Regions from separate parts of the Homo sapiens genome. Here region 2 is linked to region 1. Evidence: promoter capture Hi-C in 16 types of primary human blood cells and fetal thymus (Javierre and others, 2016). All regions are on one chromosome and are shown on one strand. Each heading gives the region's core, a stretch centred on a gene start or on the middle of the fragment in contact. The rest is flanking DNA. Distances are from core to core; before and after follow the strand shown.

What was found. Contacts are between HindIII fragments. The CHiCAGO score rates a contact against its expected background, and 5 or more counts as called.
Region 2: a contact is called between a fragment that was not itself captured here and the fragment with the promoter of MS4A10 in region 1, in 1 of 17 cell types (naive B cells). The highest score is 5.2, in naive B cells.

The regions. Positions count from the first base shown.
Region 1 is chr11:60,781,114-60,788,969 of GRCh38, forward strand. MS4A10 (membrane spanning 4-domains A10) reads left to right here and starts at 4,220. Exons shown (of 8, transcript NM_206893.4): 1 at 4,220-4,308. The HindIII fragment of the contact is 8,520 bases long and covers 2,903-7,856 here.
Region 2 is chr11:60,261,789-60,269,644 of GRCh38, forward strand. No RefSeq gene overlaps it. Among named protein-coding and RNA genes, the nearest start is that of MS4A4A, 15 kb to the right of the region's middle. The HindIII fragment of the contact is 168 bases long and covers 3,245-3,412 here.

The DNA of each region.
Region 1 (7,856 bases), core at 2,970-5,469:
GAGACAGCCTCAGCATCTACTTTCTTGTCTCACAAAAAGGAATTTACATCTTCTCTTCCAACTCAAGCCATTTCCCCTCCTGTGTTCCTGATGTCAGTTGACGTCCCTATAGACTTTGGGCCACCCAAGACTGAACCCAAGCATCATTCTTGGTTTCCCCTCTCTCTAAGCCACACAGAATCATCCTCCACTGATTCTCCTTGCTCTGGTTTCTCAACTGAGTCCACTCTCCTTATCCTCCTCCTTTGAGCCACATCACTTTTCACCTGCATCTTTGAACCACACCACCTTTGAACCACGTCACCCTTCACCTACATCAGGCGTCAGCCTCCTGCCACGTCCCCAGCTCTGAGCCTGCCCCATGCATCTCTTGACTAGATGACAGCCAGAGGGATTTTTCTAAAGTACAAAGTCATCATGTTACTGTTCTGCCTAAACTTATTCAGGCTCTCCTTTGCCCTTGGGCTAAAGTCCAAATGCTCTAGCAACACTTACAAAGCCCTGGAGATGTAGCAGTTCACCTCTCCAGCCCCATCCCTCCTCACCCTCCACTTACACTTGACCCCGAGCCATCCTGAGTCTCCGTGAGCTCCATCTGCCTGGAAGGCTGCTCTCTGCCTGCTTCCAACCCTCCTATTTGTCCTGCTTAGCTCCCAACCCCACTTCAGACCTTCATTTAGATACCACTTCCTCCAGGAAGCCTTATCTGGCCTCATCCCCCAACCCCTTCTAGATTAGGGGAACTCCTCCAGGCTCTCGCCACACCCACATCTCAGTATCACATCACTCACCCGTCCACAGCACAGTTACCTGTCTCCCTGTTCATCTTATTCAATGGACTTCATATTCTTTCCCTATTGCTGCTGTAACAAATTACCATGAACTTAGTGGCCTAACATAACACAGACTTATTATTAGACAGTTCTGAGGTCAGAGGTCCTAAAATCCAGGTGTCGGCAGGGCTGAGTTCCTTCTGGAGGCTCCAGGGAGGCCCCGCTTCCTTGCCTTTTCCAGCTTCTAGAGGCCACCTGCCTTGCTTGGCTTGGGACCTTGGCCTCCACCTGCCAAGCTCTTCCACTCACTCTGACCCTCTTGCCTCCCGCTTGGGAATACATTGGGCCCACTGAATAATCTATCCCTATCAACAACTTTGACTTAATCATCTGCAAAGCCCTTTTCACTGCATAAGGTAACGTATTCACAGATTCTAGGGATGTGGACATTGTTGAGGTGCCATTGCTCTGACTACCACAAATTCTGAGCTCCTCAAGGCCAGGGGCAGCCTCTTGCCCACTCCTGGATCCCCAGCATGTCACACAGCGCCTGGCCCAAGTAAGTGCTCATTAGCTGTTTTATCAATGAACGGATCAGTTAATGAACAAGGGTATCAGGGGGGTGGGGGGCTGTCTTCCTACTCAGCAAAAAAGCACTGGTCCTGGAAAAACACTCACCCCATGTTTGAGGAGCTAAAGTCGTGGGTGATGAACGGGTGCAAGGCAACCAATGACAGTGATTATTGGCCTCACGTGTCTCAGCATTACAGTGGGCAGGCAAGTGCCTTCAGAAGAAACAGGTCTCTCTCAAAGCTACTGGCTGCTGCTCAGCCTGGCCCCCTACCCCTCAGGGGAAGCCTGCATAGTCCAGCAGGTCTGAGAGGGGTGAGTGGCCTTTTGCCTGATTGTGTGTGTGACATCGAAGTCTATGCCACATTGAACATGCATGACAGCTGAGCACGAGCGACCCCGGAAGCACACAGCAACTAAAATAATTAGGCACGGCCACTGACACGTGTGAGGCGCTGCTTTTAAGCATTTTACATATTCTAACTCATTTAACCCTCCAGCAACTTGATGGGTACTATTATCCCCATTTTATAGAGGGGAAAACTGAGGCCCACCAAAGTCAAATAACTTGCCCAAGGTCACACAACATTAAGAGGTAGAATCAAGATTTGAACTCAGGCATCCCAGATGCAGAGTCAGCTCTGAAGTGCTATGCTGTGCTCAGCAAGTCAAAGTCAGTCAGTCCTGGCATCAGGGACTATCTGTACAGCCGCTGGCTCTGCCTCGCGCTTCCCTGTCCACCCTCAGCAGAGCGATGTGGAGAGAGAAGCCAGATGGAAAAGGAAGAGCCCAAGGCGGGATCTAGGGGTCGCTGGATCTGGGGGTCGCTGGATCTGGGGGTCACAGGATCTGGGGGTTGCTGGATCTGGGAGTTGTGGGATCTGAGGGTTGTTGGATCTGGGGGTTGTGGGATCTGGGGGTTGCTGGATCTGGGAGTTGTGGGATCTGGGGGTTGCTGGATCTGGGAGTTGTGGGATCTGGAGGTTGCTGGATCTGGGGTTTGTTGGATCTGGGGGTCGTGGGATCTGGGGGTTGCTGGATCTGGGGGTCACTGGATCGGGGGGGTCACTGGATCTGGGGTCATAGGATCTGGGAGTCACAGGATCTGGGGGTCACGGGATCTGGGGGTTGTGGGATCTGGGGGTCATGGGATCTGGGGGTCACAGGATCTGAGGGTTGTGGGATCTGGGGGTCCCTGGATCTGGGGGTTGTGGTACCTGGGGGTCGCTGGATCTGGGGTCACTGGATCTGGGGGTCATGGGATCTGGGGGTCACTGGAGCCCACTCCACACCTCCTCCACCAGAACAGCCTCACGGAAGACCTTCACACTTCCCAGAGCAGCACCGTGCTCATGGAAAGATCAGGGCACAAGATGTGGCAACTGATTCTGTCAGATGCAATTTGTGGGCCATGCCTGGATCCTGGATCCTGATTTGAACAAATCAAAAGTAACAAGACATTTGTGAGATAATCAGAAACTGAAGCTCCGACTAGTTATTTGATACCCGGTAAGTACCAAAAACTAGATAAGAACAGGTTTTTCTGACTCCTAGGGTTAAGCTTGTCCCCCACAACAGGGGTCCCCAACCCCCAGGCCATGGAGCTATACCAGTCTGTGGCCTGTTAGGAACCAGGCCTCACAGCAGAAGGTGAGGGGCAACAGGCAAGCATGACCTACCACCTGAGTGCCGCCTCCTGTCAGATCAGCCGCAGCAATAGATTCTCAAAGCAGAACGGGCCCTATTATGAATTGCACATGCAAGGGATCTAAGTGGTACCCTCATGAGAATCGAATGCCTGATGATCTGAGGTGGACTAATTTCATCCCAGAACCATCCCCCATCCCCACCCCGGCCCATGGAAAAATTGTCTTCCACGAAACTGGTCCCCAGTGCCAGAACGGTTGGGGACCACTGCTCTATGAAAGTAGTTTCTTTTTTCCTTTCCTCTTTTTTTTTTTTTTTTTTTTTTGAGACAGGGTCACACTGTGTTGCCCGGACTGAGGTGCAGTGGTGTGATCACAGCTCACTGGACTCAAGTGATGCTCCCACCTCAGCCTCTCGAGCAGCTGGAACCATAGACAGGGACCAAGACACCTGGCTCATTTTTGAATTTTTGAATTTTTGTAGAGATGAGGTCTCGCTATGTTGCCCAGGCTGGTCTCAAGCTCTTGGCTCAAGTGATCCTCCCACTTTGGTCTCCCAAAGAGCTGGGATTGCAGGCATGAGCCACCGCCCGGCCCTTTAAAAGACTAGTTTCCAAATGTTCAACAGAGCTCTGTGGGGCTGCAGGGTTAAACTCTGAGCGTAAATAGACCTCAGTGAGCACCAGGACTCGGTTTTAATTTTTTTGTTCTGATCATGTGGTCACACTTTTTTTTTAAAGAGTCCATATCTTTTAGAGATAAATACTAAAATGCTTACAAATAAAATGGGAAGATATCTGAGTTTTGCTTACTTCTGGGGGAGAATAAGATTGGCCAAGAGCTGCTGATGGTGGCTGTAGCTCGCGAATGGGCACAGGGGTGTCATGGAACCATTCTCTCTACTTTTGTGAGTGCTTGAAATTTTCCAGAATTAAAAGAACTCTTTCAAAAGGTTCAACTTCTTACTCCACTCCCAGGATCTAAGACGATTACAACCACTTTCACTCCATCAGTCATGCCCTGAAAACAGATTAAATTATCAACATTTCCCTTGCCAAAGGAAATTTACAACTGTCAAGGAGAGACATAAAGAAGGGCACTAAGATTTTCACCTGCCGGGGTTTGGCGGGAGGGGGAAGGACTTTGACAGCTTCCATGCAACCGGGGCATGAAGCAGGGCGTGGGTCCAGGAGGGAGAAGATCCAAAGTCGAATGTTGTAAAGATGTGCTGATTTCCCAGCGCTGTCTCTGGGGAGCTCCGGCAGCGCAAGAGGGCAAAGCACAGCTGGAAGCTCAGAGCTGCAGTCCCAGGTCCTGGGGTGAGTGGTCCCCCCATGGCAGGAACAGAGGGGAGTGATTTTGTGTTTCCATGTGGAGTTGGGGGGTTGCTCAGGTGTACAGACCTGGTCCCCCCTTGAAGCCAGGGGACCGGCCTCTTATACCCCTAGCCAATCAGTTGTTGGCTGTAGGGTTGGAGCGGTGTTACTTAAACTCCCAGAAGGGAGGAGATGTGAGCCTTTAGCAATGAACAATTATACCAGCTGGAGAATGGGTGGCCCACCCAGCAGAGGGGATCTGGGAAGTAGGGGGCACCGTCGGCCTCTCCCCTGCGGAGCCCCATCCTGCTGCCAGTTACTGACCCTTATTGCTGGAGGAGCCCCAGACACTTTTCTTGCAGTCTGGAAATGCATACACACAGAGAGACCAGTTCAAGAAAACAGAGCCCCAGGGAGGAGAAGGGACTTGTCGAGGGCCACGAGGGGGCAGGACTAGAATCCAGATTCTTGACTCCCTCCTTGGACGGAGGCCTCTGTTTCCTGCAGGCCTTCCAGCTGCTGGTGGGTGAGCTCTCTTTACACCAGGCACACTGTCTGGAAGCACCAGGAGGAGGCTGGTTCAGTACAGTCGTAGGTGGTTTTCTAACTGGCATTCACTGAAACGCTGATCCTCTAAGGCACCCCACCCCCAACACCAGCCTGCCTGTCACATGTTGTGACACTCTTGTCACTCAGCACCTCTCAATTCCTGCCTTTCTGTCCTTGACATGCATGCACATGCATGCACACACATGCACACACACACACACGCACACACACACACACACACACACCCTGAGAAGCTCTCTCTGTCCTCTAGGGCTCCACTGCACAGTCTGATGAGGGTCATATTATTCATGCCACGTTTCCTCTGCCTGCTCAGCCACAGACCTCCCATGGACACATCTTACTCACTCCTGCCTCGGTCCCTGCAGTGTCCAGTGCAGAAACTCCACAAACAAATCCACGAATGACAGTGTTGGATCTCAGATCACTAGCTCAATACACTCAGTGCCTTTCTTCCCTCACGACCCCCTACCCCCACCCCAGGGCCCCAGAGCTCTCACGGCCCTCTCCCCCTGTAAGCAGGATGGGGATGGAGGCAATAAACTCACCACTCCAGATGATAGGGACAGGGTGTATCATGTCTTAACCAAGAACCAGACGAGGACAAGGTGGAGCCTCGCTCTCACAGCCCTCTCCCCCTGTAAGCAGGATGCAGATGGAGGCAATAAACTCACCACTCCAGATGATAGGGATGGGGTGTACCATGTCTTAACCGAGAACCAGACGAGGACAAGGTGGAGCCTCACTGGTGGGATTCTAGACACGCAACAGGCCAGTGGCAACTGTGGCTGACATTTATTGCTATACGCCAGTCCCTGTCAGTTGCAGGCATTGTTTCAGCTACTCCTCACCACCTACCCCCTAGGGACAGGCAGTGGCACTCCCCATGAGAAGGTGAGGGGAGACTCAGATGCTGAGATGTAAAAAACCGGCCCAAGGTCAAAGCTCCGGGGAGCAGAGCCAGGACTTTGCACGGAGCACCCATTCTAGCTGACAACTTCCAGCGCTCAGGGCCGTGCCCACTCTGCTGCTTTGCTGGGGGGTTCTGGAGGGTCCTGCCCAGCTCTGTCCCTGTCCTCCCTCCACTCCCAGAACTGAAGGAACAACGAGAATATGTGTGGGACCCAGGCATCCCGTGGCCCTGTGCAGAGCGCTGAGGCCCTAGTGGCAGTGGGTTTCCCGTGGGATACCAAGCTGGCTGGGTCCGTGGTCCTGAGCTGGCTGAGGGGGCTGGGGTTGGGCGGGGAAAGGCTAAAAAAGTTCCTTTATGCACCAAACAGCCTGCTGCCTGCCCCCTCTCTGTCAGCACACTGTCACCTCCTAGCAGCCCTGCACAGGTCCTGGAAGTGGGCCAGGACAGCTGGGAATAAGTGTTCTAAGGAATCAGAGTTCATGCTCTTTGTCTTGGAAAGGCGTACGAGAGAGTCATAACAAACTTTTCCCCATGATGACTAAGGTCTGCCCTCTGCAACTCCTTCCTCTCCTGGTTGTATAAAATTCCTTGTAGCGGCTCTCTATCCCGTGAGAGAAGTATTATATTTAAAGTTGGAAGGGACCTTAGAGATCATCACTCAATTCCCATTCCCACTGTGATATGCACGTGAGCAAACCAAAAGCAGAGAAAAGGCCAAAAACCAGAGCCCAGGACCAGAAATTGAAACCTTCAAGGCCACTTTGCCCAAAAGCAGACCCCACAGAATACCAATTGCATAGAACCGTTAGACAATGAGAAAAAAAAGATCCTATGGCCAGCCGGGCGCAGTGGCTCACATCTGTAATCCTAGCACTTTCGGAGGCCAAGGTAGGCGGATCACCTGAGGTCGGGAGTTTGAGACCAGCCTGACCAACATGAAGAAACCCCATCTCTACTAAAAATACAAAATTAGCAGGGCGTGGTGGCAGGTGCCTGTAATCCCAGTTACTCAGGAGGCTGAGGCAGGAGAATCACTTGAACCCGGGAGGCGGAGGTTGCGGTGAGCCAAGATTACGCCACTACACTCCAGCCTGGGTGACAAGAGCGAAACTCCGTCTCAAAAATAGAAATAAATAAATAAATAAATAAATAAATAATAAAGATTATATGGCCAATTAAGTTTGGGAAATGCCCTTAATACTAAAACAGAGTGTGCCACTTGTAGAAAATCTCAGAGTCTTTAATATGAGAAAAAGGGAGAAGAGGCTAACCATGGTTTCTCAAACTTATTTGACCATGGAACCCTTTTACTGCAGATACATCAGGACCAATGTTCCATGGAACATACTTTGAGAAAGGTTATTCTGGATTCTTGAGTCCAACTCCCTGTTGGATATTTGAACCATTCCTACTGCCACAGCTCTCACAAGTGAATGTCTAGGTGGAGGTACAGCTCCAGTGCCCAGGCACTCACTATCTCCGTGGACAAGCAGTTCCATCCAAGGCAGCTCTACTAAGAAGTCCCTCTTCTTCTGTTCTTTGCAGTGGAGTCCAGGCCTGGGTCCAGGTATTGTCCTCCCAGGTGTGCAGAGTCTAGGTGAAGCCAGTGGCTAACCTGGTTCAGGCCTCTGCCACCGAATACATCCCTTAGTCCAGCTAGCTGTGTCAGACGGACTTCTGAAGGCTTGGGAACCTTCCCAAGGGACAGTTCCCAGAGGGACAGTTCCCATGCATAGCTGGGCAGAGTCACAAAAAGAATCATACAGCACTGTGTCTATGAGCTCAGCTTCTGAAGCCCAGGAAAGAGGGAGACCCTCTGCCCACTCACCCCACTAAATCAGCGGTCGTCACTGCAGGACCATGGAGATATCAATCAGGGGGTCCTACCCAGCAGCCCAGGCCCAGAGCACTGGCGATGGAGTAAGACCATGCGTGGTTCCAATTCCAGGCACTTCCTCACTGTGTGACCATGGCCAAGGCAGGCAACCTCTCTGAACCTTGGTTTCCTCTTCTATGCAATGGTGCTGACTTCCTGAGTATTAAGGGAGGTTGCCAGGCAAAACTGCCTCCT
Region 2 (7,856 bases), core at 2,079-4,578, 520 kb before region 1:
CTCACCAGTCTAAAGTTATCCTAGGTTCCTATTCCAAATGAGCTACCACTCACAGTTATTTTATTCAGCCAATATTTATTAAGTATCTGGCCCATGCAGACCTATGCAAGAGATCAGTAATACCTGTAGAAGATAATGTCCCTGCCCTTGAACACAGTACATAGGGAGCATCACGAGAGCACAAAAAGTTCAGATGTGTTGGCTAAAATTTCCCTTGGGAAGAGGAGGATTCATTGAAAATTAACATTCAAATAATGCTTTCAAAGAAGAGCAGGTGCTTGCAGCCATATGCATTCTAGGTAGGGGAATCAGTGCGCACAGAGGCTAGAGCCCTGAAACAGTTTGGCTTACTGGGGGGAACTGCAAACACTTTGTTATGATTCTGTCACAGTGGGAGAAGTGACAGTTTCATTTGGGTGAGAGGTAAGATCCTGGACGTGCAAAATGTGGAATTCACAGGACTTCAAATGCTTACTGGAGACATTGGGCTTTGTCATGCAGTCAATGTGCAGACACAGAAAGATTCAAGCAGCACAGTGACAAAATCCCATTTCTATTCCAAAAGTTCCTATTACAGTAGTGAATGTAAGGGTACGGAAAGGCAAATGAAGGTCAGAAAATCCAAAACAATAAGACATGGGATAGAATATTAATATTAGGCAATAAAAGTTCTAAGGAAAATTCTCAGGTATGACAAAGGAGGGCATTTATAATGATATGTTGTTTAGAATCTTATGATCAAATAACATATAATATTCTACTAATAAAAAAATGCCTAGGAGTGTGAGAAACTAACAAAAACACAGTACTCATGAGAATTTTTAACATATGTAAGTTTTGAGGAATGTAAGCCAAAAAAGATGATTTGAATTACAAAATACTTGAATGAATCAACACTAAAGAAAGCATGCTTTTTAAGAACCCTTGGTACATTGGCAACAATTGACCAAATATTCATCCCAAAACCTCACTAACTTAAAACAAAAAATCCAGCCCACATTAACTAATCAATAAAGCTAGAGGTAAGTAATACAAATATTTGTTACCAAAATAAGATTAATTTCAAGCCCAATGAATATTTATAGACTTTTAATTGTTAATAACCAGATTAAATGCCTAAAGTGAATATATTTTGGTCATACTAAAACAAAAATATAAAGTGTTCAGTAATTCACTTAAGTGGAAACATGAAGAATTTTTATGAGGAAAGACATACGCCTTTTATTTAGAAACATAGACAGAGACTTGACTGTATTGACTTATTTCTGGTTGTCAGTTATTCCACATTTTTTTCGGACGTAATATAATATACTTTCAAATAAATCTCTTGTGGAAATTGACTTAATGTTCTTTATGTCCATGTGGAATGAGTATGACTAGCCAAAAGTATTTTAATAAAGACTAATGTTGAAGTAAAGACAGTACTATCAGAAATTAAAATGGAGTATACAATAACTAATACAAGTGATGCGTTGTGTTAAAAAAGACTGAATGGCAAGAAAATGAGAATAGAATGCCCACATAGTAATCATAGAAAAAATATAAATGGATGAAGTGCAGGACCAGACAATTTAACTAAAGAAATAGAAATGGCCATGCACTTATGCATGAAAAAATGGATTTGAAAGCAAATAATTTGTATAATGAAATAAACGAAAAGTGATGTGTTTTGAAATGCAAAAAGAAAAAAAAAGTGGTTGGTGGAGAAAAGCTCTGAGAGCACCACAAGAGGAACAGTTAAGATATGAAAGTCCCTGGAAAAGAGGAAGCTGGGACAGGACATGCAACATTGCACTTTTCACAGGATCAGCACCAAGAGCTTGGAGTTCAAGTTCCCAGGTACTTTAGTTCAGTAAGACTATGTGATAGCTGTTATGCGGTCATCTGGGGGCTGGTGGTGAAACTCAAGCCCTGCCGTCTTCTTATTGTGTTTAGTCGGAATGTACAACAATTATGCCCATGAGGCAATTTCATGGCATGGCATTGGTATATTTGCTTCAGGGCTAGAGTGACAGTCAAGTGAGGAAGACTGAAGCCGAAGACTGAACATCAGAGTTATACATCTTGACATCCTTTGTCCTTACTTGTATTTTAAAAACCCAGGCCCAGATAACTCCAACACTCGGTTTCTCCTATATCTGACATTTGGAACCTTGTATTATTAGTTCAGAAGAAGTACTGAAGAGGCCTCAGTGCACAGGCTCGGGACTGATCCTGTAACAAAGGTGATCAGATGACACCCAGGCCCAGCTGGTCTCAGCCAAATGGCTCAGGGTTGACCCTAAATATGGAAAACCAGAGAATCAGGACTATGGCTGCCTACCATGCCCTGAATAACCAGTTATATGGATTGTCATCTGGTAGAAATCCTATGCAGGGGGTGTTAATGTCATCCTTTGTGGAGTCTCTTGGTTGGATCTTCAACCACTTAATATTTTCATCAAGAATTTAGTTGCTGATCCTATTTGCAAATGATCCAAAAACAAGAAGTATAATTTATAAAACGAGAGTGTCCAGATTGAAGATACAACCCAAAAGTCTGGAACATGAGCGTTGGAATACAGATCAAATTTAATCAGGTAAAATTAAAGTCCCAAGCTTATGTTTAAAAACAAATCACCTGCACAAACCTGAGATGGGACTAGAACTTGCTTAACAGAAGTTAATGTGAGAAAGGCCTGGGCCCTTCTACTAGTTAGCTGAAAGGATGGAGACAGAAGCAAAAGACTCTCCAAGAAGTCTGCCTTTGCCTCTAGAGCAATGGATCTCAATCTTGTCTGAGCATTGGGATAACTTGGGAAACTTTAACACGTACTAACACATGAGCCCCATTACCAGGTATTCTGATTTAATTAATATGGATTATGGTTGGAGAGTCAAAATTTTTTGTAGCTCTTTAGCGGATTCTACCGTATAGTCAATGTTGCCAATTACTGCTATAAGCCTGTAGATATCAAACTTGAGTGTGTATCAAAATCTGGAGGGCTTCTTAAAACACAGAATGCACACCGAGACTGTCTGATTCAATAGGTCTGGGGTAGGGTATTTGCATGTCAACCACAATGTCAGGTGATACTGATGCTACTACTCTGGGAACCACATTTTAAGAGCTACTGCTCTAGACGAACCTGGAGTTCTCCAGATGCAACTAAAGGCTTTTTAAATTCTACCGCTGGTATTGAGCCAGAATGCATAGAACCTGGCCCTGTGCCTATCTTCTCTTCTGAGTAGGATTTATTCCATAAGCTTTGGCCTTCTCTTTACATCTTCATATCTGTGTCTGGAGGGTAGGGCCAAGTTGGACTTCGGGATACTAAACTGAGGCCTTTTATTGTAAGGACAGAGAGTAGGATGTGATGTCTTGATGCTGCTTCAGGTTACTAGAGGAGACAATGATCTCAGTTCAGAACCAAGCTTAAAGTTATATATCTCTCGGGGACTATTTGTCCCAGGAATGCAAGCTAGGATTTACTTTTCAATCTTTCCCCAGTTTCTTTCCCAAAAGTAACATATCTTTGGGAAGAAATTAGGGTAAATGAGCAATGGTAAGCTCAAATCCTGGCATCAGGAAAATTCTCCTAGCACTCATGGTATGGCCTGTTCACCACTGACCACAAAGACATGTAGAAGGTGGTGCACAATTTTCAGGAGTCCAGAAATACAAACAGTTCTCTTAATACTTGCTCTGTAGTCTCAATTGTTGTCATCTCTTTCCACACACACATGCATGCACACACACGCACACACATGCACACAGGCAGTTCTTACAATATTGAGATGCTTTGCTTAGACTGGGCTGTATATAAGAGACCTGATTTACATCTTATAAAAATAGAACATCAGAGTTAGAAGAGACGTGGAAATCTTTCTACACTGAAATATGAGAAGTCTGTGGCCCAGGGAAAGAAAGTGATTCACGTGAGTCATGAAGGTAATGAATGTATAACCCAGTTTTTCTGTTTTTCCTATTATCCCCTTCATTTTGACATTGAGGTGTCATATTTAATTGAGCCACAAGAGGGAGGCAGTGGACAAGAAATTGTCCTACCTAATTTGAATTCCTACCTAATCTGGTGTCTTCTGGGAAGACCTTATGAAAAGTCAACTCCCAGCTCTGGTCTTGTATACTAGCGCTGGGTTGGGTCCCATTTCTATCCCATATTCTCTGGGAATCTAGTAGATACAGCAAGTCATCCCTCTGACCCTTAGCTTTTTCATCTGCTAAATTTTGTAGGTATTATTTAGATATTATTACTTATATTGAAAGGTGTTAGTGAGGATACCTGAGAATGAATTTTCAAAACATCACAAGTTGATTTTCAAGATAGTATTAAAGTGCTTTAATTTCAAAGGGTGCTTTTTGTACCATCCTAACTTTATACCACTTTTTTGTCCACTCCCACCCCATTCTCTGCACTCTGGTGAACTGAAAAACATATTTTAGATTTTATCTAATTGTTATTTACTCTACTCTCCTCTCCCTTCTCCTGTCTTTCCCCACATTCTGTAAAATGTGAGCACATGCATGATGGAGGAGGGTGTGGATACAGCTAGAGGGAGAGGTTGAGACTGCACATCTCACCTGGTCTCATATTCTGAAAAATCTGGGTTATAAATGGCACACCAGAGACATTACCATGCCCTCCTCTCTGCTTTTTGGAACATGGATCTTATTGCAGAAGGTGAGGGTTTGGGAAGGCTTCGGGATGAGTGGCCAGGTGGCAACATCTGTGCCTGGCTTCTTCCCTTCTTGGTGGAACAGCCACTGGCCTCTCATAAGGGAAATAACCTGAACCAGCCCGACCCTGAGAGCCTCCCTCATGGTGTTGGACTTATAGATCACACATTAAGGAAATATGTCCATGAGAGATTTTAGGATGACTCATATGGTTTCATGGATCTAGAAGTGACTTTGAAAGTGAATGAACCAACCTAGTAGTTTCTAGTGAAGCTGACTGATGGAAATGAACCAAGCATTTATTTTCCAATGCCATAGAGTGGATCGGTGAAAGCTGGGTGGAGAGAGGATTAAAAGAAGTGAAATAAAGTTAGGACTTCTGAACGTTTCTCTAATACCCATTCCCATCATGGTTGGGCCAGTACCATTTTTGGAGTTTTTGTTTTGTTTCTCTTTCCCTTTATTTTACACAGTATAGAAATTCACTGACTACTCCTCAGATTTTTCCAGTCCTGCCTCCCCAGAGGGACTCACATCCCTTTTCATGGCAGTAACCACCTGGTGTTGCTCGAGCACCTCCTAGGATTCCCACTCGTTACTCAAAATGGATAATAAAGAAATTTTCTCAAACGCAATTTAGGTGAATAAAATTTAATCTAATAATATGTGTGAACTATTCTTCTGAAATAATAATGCTGAGATAATGAGTGGAACCACGCATTTATTTTCTTGAACCTGATAATACAAATCCCTAGCAGTTATCTGGACCAACAAGTGGTAAGAGCAGAGGTCTTGAGGTGAGCACGTTCCATGCTTCTGAGGAAACAGTACGTCTGGAGACACATTGAGACTGGAATAGGGAGAGGAGAAGGCAATGTTGTCTGAGATTTCTGGGGGGCTGGATTATAAAGCGACTTATTAAGGAGATACGGCTTATTTTGAGTGAGGTAGGAGGCATTGGAAGATTTTCAGCAAAGGGAAGACAGGATCTAACTTGCATCTTAACAGGACCACTCTGGCTGCCTGTCTTGGTAAGAACCGACTGAAGGGAGGCGAGGGAAGATGTGGGGAGAGTAGCGAGGAGGCTCCGGCAGTAGTCCCAGAGAGAGGATGGTGGGTTGTGTTGTTGGAACACAGCATCACTGCTCATTCAAATCCTAGGAGGTGGGTGCCTACGCCTCTCTTTCTTTCACTCCCCACATTCAGTCATTTTGAAGGCTCAGGTATCAGTAAAAGTGTCCCCAAGAAACATAATTCATCCCATGTGACTTATTTAAGGGATTTTTATGAAGACCTCGCAGAATTTGGGCAGAGTTAAGGGAACGAAGAAGGAAAGGGAGGTCACTACAGACAAGAAAAGCAGGAAGGTATGAGAAGAGAACACACTATTATGGGGACCAATAAAGAGCAGAAGTCTTGTAAGAAGAGCTGCTTTGTAGTATAACTGTGGAAGAAGTAGCTACTTCCAAAGGCTGTGTCAATGCAGAGAGAATAGGAAAGCAATGCTTTGTCCTTTCTCTCTTTCCAGCCTCTAATTCTCCAAACAAACCTGAATGGTTTGCTTTACTGTCACACATTTATAGGGGATTTGTGGAGATTTTCCCAGAGTGACACAATTGGCAAATGGCTGAATTGTCCGGAGCTCAGACCTGCTGCTTTTTAGCCCTGTGGTCTTTCTATTACACTACCTGGTCCCCCTCCAGAGAGAAACAACTAAATGAGACTTGGCTTTGGCTCACAGAGACAATGAATAGGGAAAGTTGGAAGTCTAAGTGGGTGAGAAGATATATTGTCGGCTCATTCCCTTTTTTGCCCTCCCAAGAGAAAAAAGAGCTGGCATTTTTTTTTTTTGGAATGAAATATATTTTCTTTTTCTGATAGTGTTCCACTGCTCTTCCTGATGTTTTCTGTAGCTTTCTTTTTTTAAAACTTTTATTTTATGTTCAGGGTACATGTATAGTTTTTAAATAAATAATCTGTACACCAAACCCTTGTGACATGCAGTTTGAAAGACAAGTGTAGGTACCAACCTCCCAGGATTTTAGTGAGAAGCAACGCTGCATCCCAACAACCCAACCCACCATCCTCTCTCTTGGACTACTGTCGGAGCCTCCTCACTATCCTCCCTACGTCTTCCCTCATCTCCCTTCAGTCTGTTCTTATCATGGCAAGCAGCCAGAGTGATACTGTTAAGACACTAGTCAGATCCTGTGTTCCTTTTGCTGAAAATCTTCCAGTGCCTCTATTTCACTCAGAATAAACCTAAGTCCTTAATAAGACCTCAAGTTCTTTTATAATTGAGGCCCCGCAGACACCTCAGACAACATTGCCTTCTCTTCTCCCTATCCCAATCTCAATGTGTCTCCAGACACACTGCCCCCTCAGAAGCACAGGAACCTGCTCCCCTCAAGAGCTTTGCACTTTCCACTTCTTTGGTTCAAATAACTGCTAGTGAGCTCTAAGGATTTGCATTATGAGGTTCAAGAAAATAAATGCTTACATGCCACAGAGGTTTGGTGTACCGATTATTTTATCACCCATGTAATAAGCATAGTACTCAATAGATAGTTTTTTAATCCTTACCCTCTTCTCACCCTCTACCCTCCAGTAGGACCCAGTGTCTGTTTTTCCCTTCTTTGTGTCCATGTGTACTCAGTGTTTAGCTATTACTCATAAGTGAGAATGTGTGATATTTAGTTTTCTGTTTCTGCATGAGTGTGCTTAGGATAAAGGAATCCAGCTCCATCCGTGTTTCTTCAAAGAACATGAACTCATTCTTTCTTATGGCTGTGTAGTTTCCCATGGTGTATACGTACCGTTTTTTCCAGTCTACCATTGATGGGCATTCAGTATGATTTCATGTCTCTGCTATGAACATATGTGGACATGTATCTTTATGGTAAAATAATTTATGTTCCTTTGGGTATATACCTAATAATGGGATAGCTGGGTCGAATGGAACTTCTGTTTTAAGTTCTTTGAGAAATTGCCACACTACTTTGCACAAGGCTGAACTAATTTACATTCCCACAAGCAGTGTATGGTGTTATTTTTCCTCCACAACCTTTTTAGCATCTGTTACTTTTTGACATTTTAATAATAGCCACTCTGACTGGCATGAGATGGCCACAGTCTCCTTGTAGTTTTGATTTGTGATTCTCTAATGATTAGTGATGTT